3 separate regions of the Homo sapiens genome follow, and regions 1 and 3 are each linked to region 2. Evidence: promoter capture Hi-C in 16 types of primary human blood cells and fetal thymus (Javierre and others, 2016). All regions are on one chromosome and are shown on one strand. The core of a region is centred on a gene start or on the middle of the fragment in contact, and the rest is flanking DNA. Distances in the headings are between cores, read along the strand shown.

Region 1 (2,700 bases), core at 98-2,597, 480 kb before region 2:
AGAACAATCTCGCTGACTGCCCACCAACCCAGCCCAACATGCCAGTGAGGGCCACAGGGGCAGGCACTGCCACCTGTGGCCATGGGGACAAGGGGGTGGCAGGGAAAGAGAATGTTGCCCAACTGCAGAGCCCTGGACCAAGGGTCTCATCCCAGGACCACCACTGACCTTGGGCCTATCATGCCCCTCTCCCGGACTTACTTTCCCTATCTGTGATGAGGTGATCTCTAGGCTCTGAAGTTCTCTGGGGACCCACCCTCCAGGAAAGGCCTTTGAGGTCATTCCTGTTCCACCCCTGCCTCCAGGTGGGGCCTCATTCAAACCATGGTGGATAGAGGACAACTGAAGCAGCGGGCGCCCTCTGCGTGCCATTTGGGCCCCCACTAACCACAGGAGGGAGCTTTCTAGACTAACCCAGACCCCCTGTGCTGCAGTCCCAGCCCCAGCAGCTGTGTCCCAGCAGAGGAGGAACCTGCTACCTCCCACCTCTTCCCTTCCCTGCCAACCTGGGGGCAGGGCTAGCTTCAGAAGGTGGCATTTAAGAGGCGGCCCTGGGGGTGTGGCACTGTGCCATGCATGGACCAAAAGAAAGGGGTGCCTGGCTCAGGGCCCCATCACCACCCACAATTCATGACTGGGGCCAGCGTGCCCTACACACCCGCTGCAGACCCTGGGGAAACGAGCTCTCCACTGTCCTCATGCCAGGGGCCACTGCGGGCCGCCTACTCTGCTCCTCTACAAGTCCCAACTAGTCGTGGGTTTGTCCAGCCAGGCAAATCCCAGGACACGGGCACACCCCACAGTCATACACAGGAACACACACCCTCCTGCCAATGCGGGCTCCAGCCTGGACAAGTCCAGCTCAGGGGTCCCATGCCAACCCTAGCTCTGCCACTACCACACAGGGGACCCTGGGCCAGCCCCTGCCTCTCTGGGTCCCTTCCAACTTTGTGGGGGCCAGCTGTGCCCTGAAATCCCTAGCCCAGTGTCTCTTCCCATACACAGGAAATGAAACTTCAGAACTTTGTTTCTAGACTGGGTTAGTTTAGAAACCAAACAGAGCCCTGGGCTGGGAGTTGGAAGACCTGGTGTCTAACTTTAACTGGCTGTGTGCCCCCAGCATGGTGCTTCCCCTCCCTGAGCCTCTGTTTTCTCCTCTGTTACATGGGCATCATAATGGTCCCGACCTTGGTGTATTAAATGTGAAACACTCAGCACGCGCCTGGCACATAGTAGGCACTCAATAAACAGTAGCTACTGTTAATACGTTATTGCCACCTGCATGCCTCTCATCTGCACACATACACTCTGTCCCAGCTGCGAGTGTCCCTTACCAATCTTCAGCCACCACCAACTTCCCAGGGCCACCTCCCGGCCACCCGGAGGCCCAAAGCAGACAGTGCATCAAGAGCATCCCGCACCCCTCGCACCGGCTCACACCCAGCTCCCGCCCCACACCCTGGGACCCCCACAAGCCTGCAGCACGGGTGATGTGAATCCTGCCTGGACATGAAGACAGGCCTGCTTCTCCTTCCTTCCCTGCCTGGAACTCATTCCAATAGGCAGTGGCGGCAGGTCTTGTGGCTGCCCCAGATGGGCTGCAGAACACCGCGGGTGCCCACACCAGCCTCGAGCCAGCATCCAGCCACCGCCTCAACCCCAAGGCCCGTGGCAATGGGAGATGCCCAGAAACTCAAGGGGCAGGAATCTTTAGGGATCTCATTCTCCGTGTCCCACACCCCTAACAGGCCTGGGACAGATGGGAACAAAATACCCCTGGTGCCAGGCACTTTATTCTATTATCTCCTTGATTCCTACAATTCCACGTCCCATTACAATCCCCACTACAGAAAACAGGCTTAAAGAGCATAGTGATTTGCTCAACGCCACTCAAGGTGGCAGAGCCTCAATCCAAGCCCAGGCCAACCTGACTCCAGGGCCCATCTTTTGCCCCGTGTGTGGGCCTGGTCTAGATGCCTCCCTGCCCTTGAACGAGGGGAACCCTGGCCTAGTCCACCACCTGGGCGGCACCCACCCTCTCGCTGACCGCATTGTACTTAATGGCGAGCTCATCGCGCTCGGCACGGCTCTGGGCCAGCAGGTCCTCCACGCGGGACAGCTCCTGCTGCAGCAGCTGGTTCTCCTCCTGCAGCGACAGCAGCGATGCCATCTCTGTGGCCGGCAGCAGGACTGGCAAGGGACAGTGGGCACATGGTTGGCTTCTGGGTCCAGTGGGACATCCTCCCCCCAACAGGGAGGGCAAGAAAACCATCCAGGCCCCTGGGAGGAGTCCAGATGGGAATGGCTGCAGCACCAGGCCTGCAAACAGAGCTGAGAACAGGGAGGAAGGCAAGGAGGGGATACAAAGCTGGACGTAAAGTGAACACAACTCCAGCTAAAGTGTGGCCCAGCAGGTTTGGGAGGTGCAGGAGAGACACTCAGTCTAGGAGCCAGGAGACCCCTGAGTTCTTGCTCCCTCCTTTTCCAATTAGTCTTCTTCTCCGGGGCCTCAGATTTACTTATCTGTAATATGGGTGGGGCGGGCACGGACTCACGCCTGTAATCCCAGCACTTTGGGAGTCGAGATAGGAGGATCACCTGAGGTCAGGAGTTTGAGACTAGCCTGGCCAACACGGCGAAGCCCTGTCTCTACTAAAAATACAAAAATTAGCTGGGCATGGTGGTGTATGCCTGTAGTCC
Region 2 (2,700 bases), core at 137-2,636:
CTACTCGGGAGGCTGAGGCAGGAGAATCGCTTGAATCCGGGAGGCGGAGGTTGCAGTGAGCCGAGATCGCACCATTGCACTCTAGCCTGGACAACAAGAGGGAAACTCTGTCTCAAAAAAAAAAAAAAAAGACCCAACAGGAGATGGGGCTAGACGACCATCAATGGTTTGATGGTCCAACCACAGTTTGATGACAGAAAACAAATGTATTTTGGTTATTGTTGTTTTTGTTTTTATACTATTTTAAAATATGTCATGAATGTAATGTTCACTAACGCATCTTTTCACCATAAGATCAGCTATGAGCCCACGGTAACACAACTGGAAAGTAACAAGAGGAAATGTGGACGTTCCATCATTCTTGGGGTGCAGACCAATCCTGTATTTCCGAAAAACTTGGACAACCATCGCCTTCAAGAGCCACCCAGGCCCCCGCAAATACGAGCACTCCCCACCACCACTCAGTGGCACAAAATAGCCATAGGCCAGGTTGTCTGTATGAAGTGTATCTTTTTTCTTTTAATATTTTTCGTCGTTTTGATAGATAACGCATACAAAGAGTAGTAAAACGCAAACAGCACAAAAGGGAAAGGAAGTTTCCTTCCAAGGGCGGTTCCCCTCCCCTAGGGCAGTTTCCTGTGTTCCTTTGCAGAGATACTCAGTATGTTTACAAGCGTGTGTGTTTATTCGTCTCAGGTAGAGACCAGAGAAATATAGAAGGGGTCCTCCCAACTGCTCCAGGCTGTGATCAAGGGTGAAATTCGTGCGAAGGGATCTGGGTAGGAAGGGGTCCCTGGGCTTCGACCGTCACCTTAAAGCTCCCCGGGACCGGTCCTTTCAGCCGGCTCTGGGCTCCCTCCCCTCCTCTCGGGGATTTCCGTCTGTGATAGGGCACCTCCCCGCTTAAGGCTTTTCGAGGATCCCTTCAAGGCCACCGGTTAGCGCTGAAAGAGAAGCGTCTGTGACATCACCACCCCCGACCAAGTTTAGGGTACCCGGCAGCCCACCGGGGTCCCTAAGCGCTAGATACGGCTTTAACGCCCTCCCCGCCGCCAGGAGTCCCGTGCGTCGAACTGAGACGGGCGAAACTCTGGATCCACCTCCCTGCTCGGGCCTGGAACTGGAAGAAGCAGCAGCATTAGCTCCCCCTCGCCCCAAAACTGGCCAGGGCTGTCCTCGGTTCCCGCAGTGGGTGTGTCCGGGTGGCGGAGAAAGGGTTAAATTGGAGCTAGCCTGGTCTGGCGGTGGGTAGTCACCTGTAGCCACGGTTGGTAGCCCGCGGAGGGATGCGGTAGACGTGGACGTCAGGCTTGACACAGAGCACCGACTCGTACCCGCTCTCCTCCATCGCGACGCCTGGAGCCCACCGAACTTCCGGCGACTTCCACCGTTCCTCTGTCCGACGGACGGAAGCGGTGCGACTCTCTGACCAGGTTTCGGCTAGAGCGGCAGCTCGCGGGCCTCAGCACCGCCTCGTTTGTGCGCCCTCTGCTGGAAACCCGGCTCAAGACACGTGGCGGGCGACCTCCGGAGGCTTCTCCCTCCCTCCAGAGGCTTCTCCTTCCCTCCAGACACCCTCCGACGCAAAGAAAGCGCCCTGCGCCCGCCATGGACAGACCCCTCTGTAACCCGTGGTCTGGGTGTGGATCATCCCCATCGCTTCAGTTTCTTAGGCCTGGGGCCCAGTTGACCGAGAGGCAAAGCTGTAGCCCACCCTGCAGTATCTCTGTCCTCCAGCCTTTGCCTCGGCGCCTCCTCTGCCTGAATATCCTTCCCTCTCCTGACTGTAAGGCTCAGCTGGCACCTGACCCACCAGACTAAATAGATGCCATTACCCTACCACCCTCCATGCTTCCCCTAGGGGAACCCACTTATATGCTCAGGGCCCCGTGTGGCCAAACCTCAACAACGAGTTGTATTCAAAGAAGTAAAGTTTAGTAACACAAGTAATTTAAGAAGAATTCCAGGCCGGGCTTGGTAGCTCACGCCTGTAATCCCAGCACTTTGGGAGGCTGAGGCGGGCGGATCACCTGAGGTCAGGAGTTCGAGACCAGCCTGGCCAACATGGTGAAACCCCGTCTCTACTAAAAATACAAAAATTAGCCGGGCTTGGTGGCGTGTGTCTGTAGTCCTAGCTAGTTGGGAGACTGAGGCACTAGAATCGCTTGAACCCGGAATGCGGAAGTTGCAGTGAGCTGAAATTGTGCCACTGCACCTCAGCCTGGGTGACAGAGCGGGACTCTGTCTCAAAAAAAAAAAAAAAGAAGAAGAAGAATTCCAGTCTTAACTTCGATTTCTCCCAGAATATTCTGGGAGATACAATGTCTACCCTAGCCAAATTCTCAAAATCCCTCCTTCCCTACCATTCTCTCATTGAGTTGAGTGCCTGCAATGTGCCAGCCCCTATGTGGGGGTGAAGCTGATCCCAAACTTCTGATTCACTGAATACCCCAAACTTTCCCCACCCCTTCTTTCCTTTTCTCTCTCACTCTCCTTCTCCTTTTTACTTTTTTTTTTTTTTTTCTTCAGACAAAGTCTCACTCTGCCGCCCAGGCTGGAGTGCAGTGGTGCAATCTCGGCTCACTGCAACCTCCACCTCCCGGGTTCAAGCGATTCTCCTGCCTCAGCCTCCCGAGTAGCTGGGATTACAGGCACCCACCACCAAGCCTGGCTAGTTTTTGTATTTTTTTGGTAGAGACG
Region 3 (2,700 bases), core at 119-2,618, 470 kb before region 2:
TATATGTATATGTATACACACCCACACACATACATACATACATCGTGAATGTCTTAGATTCATCTTAAGTTCCACCGACAGTGAACTTAAAGTAAAATGTGCCCAACCTGAGGGTCAAACCTACCTGCTGACATGTAATTTGTGTTTATGAGACATTCTCAACAGCATTTGCTTTCCCTAGCATAGTGGTTTTCATGTTTTCCTCACACCTGAGTGTCTTAAGTGCAAAACCTGTCAGAAATCATTTCCTTTGCCAAAAGATACTTTTTTTTTTTTTGATATCAGTTCACTGCAACTTCCCCTTCCCATGTTCACAGGTTTCTCTTGCCTCAGCCTCTCGAGTAGCTGGGACTACAGGCCGGTGCCAACATACCTGGCTAATTTTTGTATTTTTCGTAGAGACAGAGTTTCGCCATGTTGGCCAGGCTGGTCTCGAACTCCTGACCTCAAGTAAAATGCCCACCTCTGCCTCCCAAAGTGTTGGGATTACAGGTGTAAGCCACCGTGCCCGGCCTGAAATACTCTTACTTTAAGGAAAAGTGCATTAAAAACAAACTTCTCAGTTGCATCTCTGGAATCCATAGAAAGCCAGGGAGAGACAATCAAGTGCTACAGGATCAAGTGCTAAACAGGGGAGGACAAAGCATGGCTTCCTAACTAGGAGTCAGGGCAAAGTTACCTGCTTTGGTTTCCAATGGAGACCGGAACTCGGTTCACCTGCAACAGGAGGACGCGGCCCAGAGGAGGCGGACTTTCTCTTCATGGTGCCTTCAGATAGGAAATCTCCTAGGATTTCTTTCTTTCCCTTTGATCTACTTCCAACGCTCCCTTTCTGTTTCTTCAGATGTTTTTTGGATCCCTAATGCGCAGGACCTAAGGGGCTGGTGCCTTTCCCTACCCTCCCTGCCTGGGTGTCTTCAGCACCCAAGCTCACCCAGAACATTACTGCCTGCCAGAGACAGTGAGGGGACCAAGGAGAGTGGCAGGTGCAGTGGGAACCACAGAGTCACCGTGTACCTGTGCTTTGTAGGCTCCTAGCAAATTGAATAAACGCCCCCTGAAGCTTCTCTGCAGGTCACAGGGAAGGGGAGGGTTGTTGCCCACCCAGTGGGAGAAGCGTCAAAAAGCATCAGGAGTATCTGGCCCTACCCCTGTGCCTGGAAGACAGACCTGGCTAGGCTGATTTTAATGGTTAGGCCCAAGGAAAAGGCCCAAGGGCGGCCCAAACCCCGACCCTGAGATTAAGGCTTTCAAATGTCTGATCGTTTTGATGTTGGTCAGTAGAATCCATCCCACCTTTATCAGGAGACTCCTTTGCCAAAATTCAGAGATCTGGGATTCCTGCTGGTTGCCACAGAGAAAGCCAATCACCGAGATGATTATTGCCAAGGAAGGCGCTTTAATAGGGTGCTGCAGTGGGGGAGATGAGAACTCAGTCTCAAATCCATCTCCCTGACCAACAAAACCAGAGGTTTATATGGCAGGGAAGAAATGTAACAATGTGTAAGAAAACAGGAACTAGGGAGGAGCAAGGAAGCAATCATGATGAATGAGGGGTCCCAGCATCTCATTGTCTGGATGAATTTCAGTTCTTTGATGGCTTTTTTGAGAGGCCTGAAGGTTGTTTCCTGAGGAAGGAACTCAGACGAAACAAATATTAAGTTTCAAGCTTTAAGACCAGCAGGGTCAATTTCTAGGTTTATCCAAAAAAGCTACATATGGGACTACTGGGTGGTTTTCAGACCAAGAAAGAAAAAGACTGTGCAGACCAAAGTCTGCAGTTAACCAAAGAAAAAACATAATTTTCTGACCAATAGGATGTATGGGGCCAGAGAATGACCAGCCTATAGAAGAACTGTTTTTTGTCCTGAGCATAGGGGAAGGATGAAGTTGCACCAACTAAGGTGGAATTAAGCTGCAGATGGGGAAAAATCTGGATTTTGGTTCAGAGCCCTGGGGTCTTCCTCAAAAGTCTCTTTCCTTGAAAGAGGAACCCTGTCTCGGTTTCTGCATCTCTCTGAGTCCTTTTGGAGGTTGAGGATGCTGAGGTCTTGGTGCTTGGCCCCCTCTAACCCTGAGTACTTCCCCTCCTGTGGGGTAACCTGGCCCAGTACCCAGGCCCCAGCTCTGGCGACCATTTCCCCCTACTTTGCTCCTAGCAAAGGCCATTTCTAGGTCAGTCGTGAGGTACAGGCAGAACGGGCAACTTCTTCTGAGATTTTTGGCCCTGGAAGGCCTTGAGCCCTGTGGTCCTGCAGAACTGCTGTCTCCCTCTTTTGGAGAAAGCAGGGAGGAAATGACCTGTGTGGGGGGAATTGTGAGCTGCACCTGCACAGAGGAGCTGAGGCAAGCAGGGCAGTTCTGGTCTGTCAATGTAAAGGACATTTATCATTCAAGAGGTTGGGCTGTTATTATTAATTTTGAATTTTGTCAATACAAACTGAAGGGAAATTTGTCTTCTTACTTGTAGGAACCTCACAAGACCACCCATCTTATATTCCAGGGAGAATTGCTGCGTATTACACAAACTCATAGGTGAGACTGCCGTTCTGACCTGCAGGCCTGGATGCCCTGCACAGGGGCACAGAGCACTGGCAAAGCCCTTCCCATACAAACAGCAAGCATGTTATGTCTACAACCCAACGGCACCAGTTCCAAGTACAATTTCTACTTGGCTGTATGAGCTGAGTACACGTTCCC

Evidence for each region. Contacts are between HindIII fragments. The CHiCAGO score rates a contact against its expected background, and 5 or more counts as called.
Region 1: a contact is called between a fragment that was not itself captured here and the fragment with the promoter of NECAP2 in region 2, in 5 of 17 cell types (total CD8 T cells, naive CD8 T cells, M1 macrophages and 2 more). The highest score is 7.6, in total CD8 T cells.
Region 3: a fragment that was not itself captured here is called in contact with the fragment with the promoter of NECAP2 in region 2 in 1 of 17 cell types (naive B cells); the score reaches 5.8 in naive B cells.

The regions. Positions count from the first base shown.
Region 1 is chr1:16,923,815-16,926,514 of GRCh38, reverse strand. It overlaps CROCC (ciliary rootlet coiled-coil, rootletin), which reads right to left. Exons shown (of 37, transcript NM_014675.5): 3 at 2,036-2,190. Among named protein-coding and RNA genes, the nearest start is that of CROCC, 3.2 kb to the right of the region's middle. RefSeq lists enhancers at 1-230, 2,060-2,670. The HindIII fragment of the contact is 6,523 bases long and covers 1-2,700 here.
Region 2 is chr1:16,439,410-16,442,109 of GRCh38, reverse strand. It overlaps NECAP2 (NECAP endocytosis associated 2), which reads right to left and starts at 1,386. Exons shown (of 8, transcript NM_018090.5): 1 at 1,257-1,386. The coding sequence starts at 1,348. The HindIII fragment of the contact is 8,327 bases long and covers 1-2,700 here.
Region 3 is chr1:16,906,572-16,909,271 of GRCh38, reverse strand. No RefSeq gene overlaps it. Among named protein-coding and RNA genes, the nearest start is that of RNU1-2, 12 kb to the right of the region's middle. The HindIII fragment of the contact is 606 bases long and covers 1,066-1,671 here.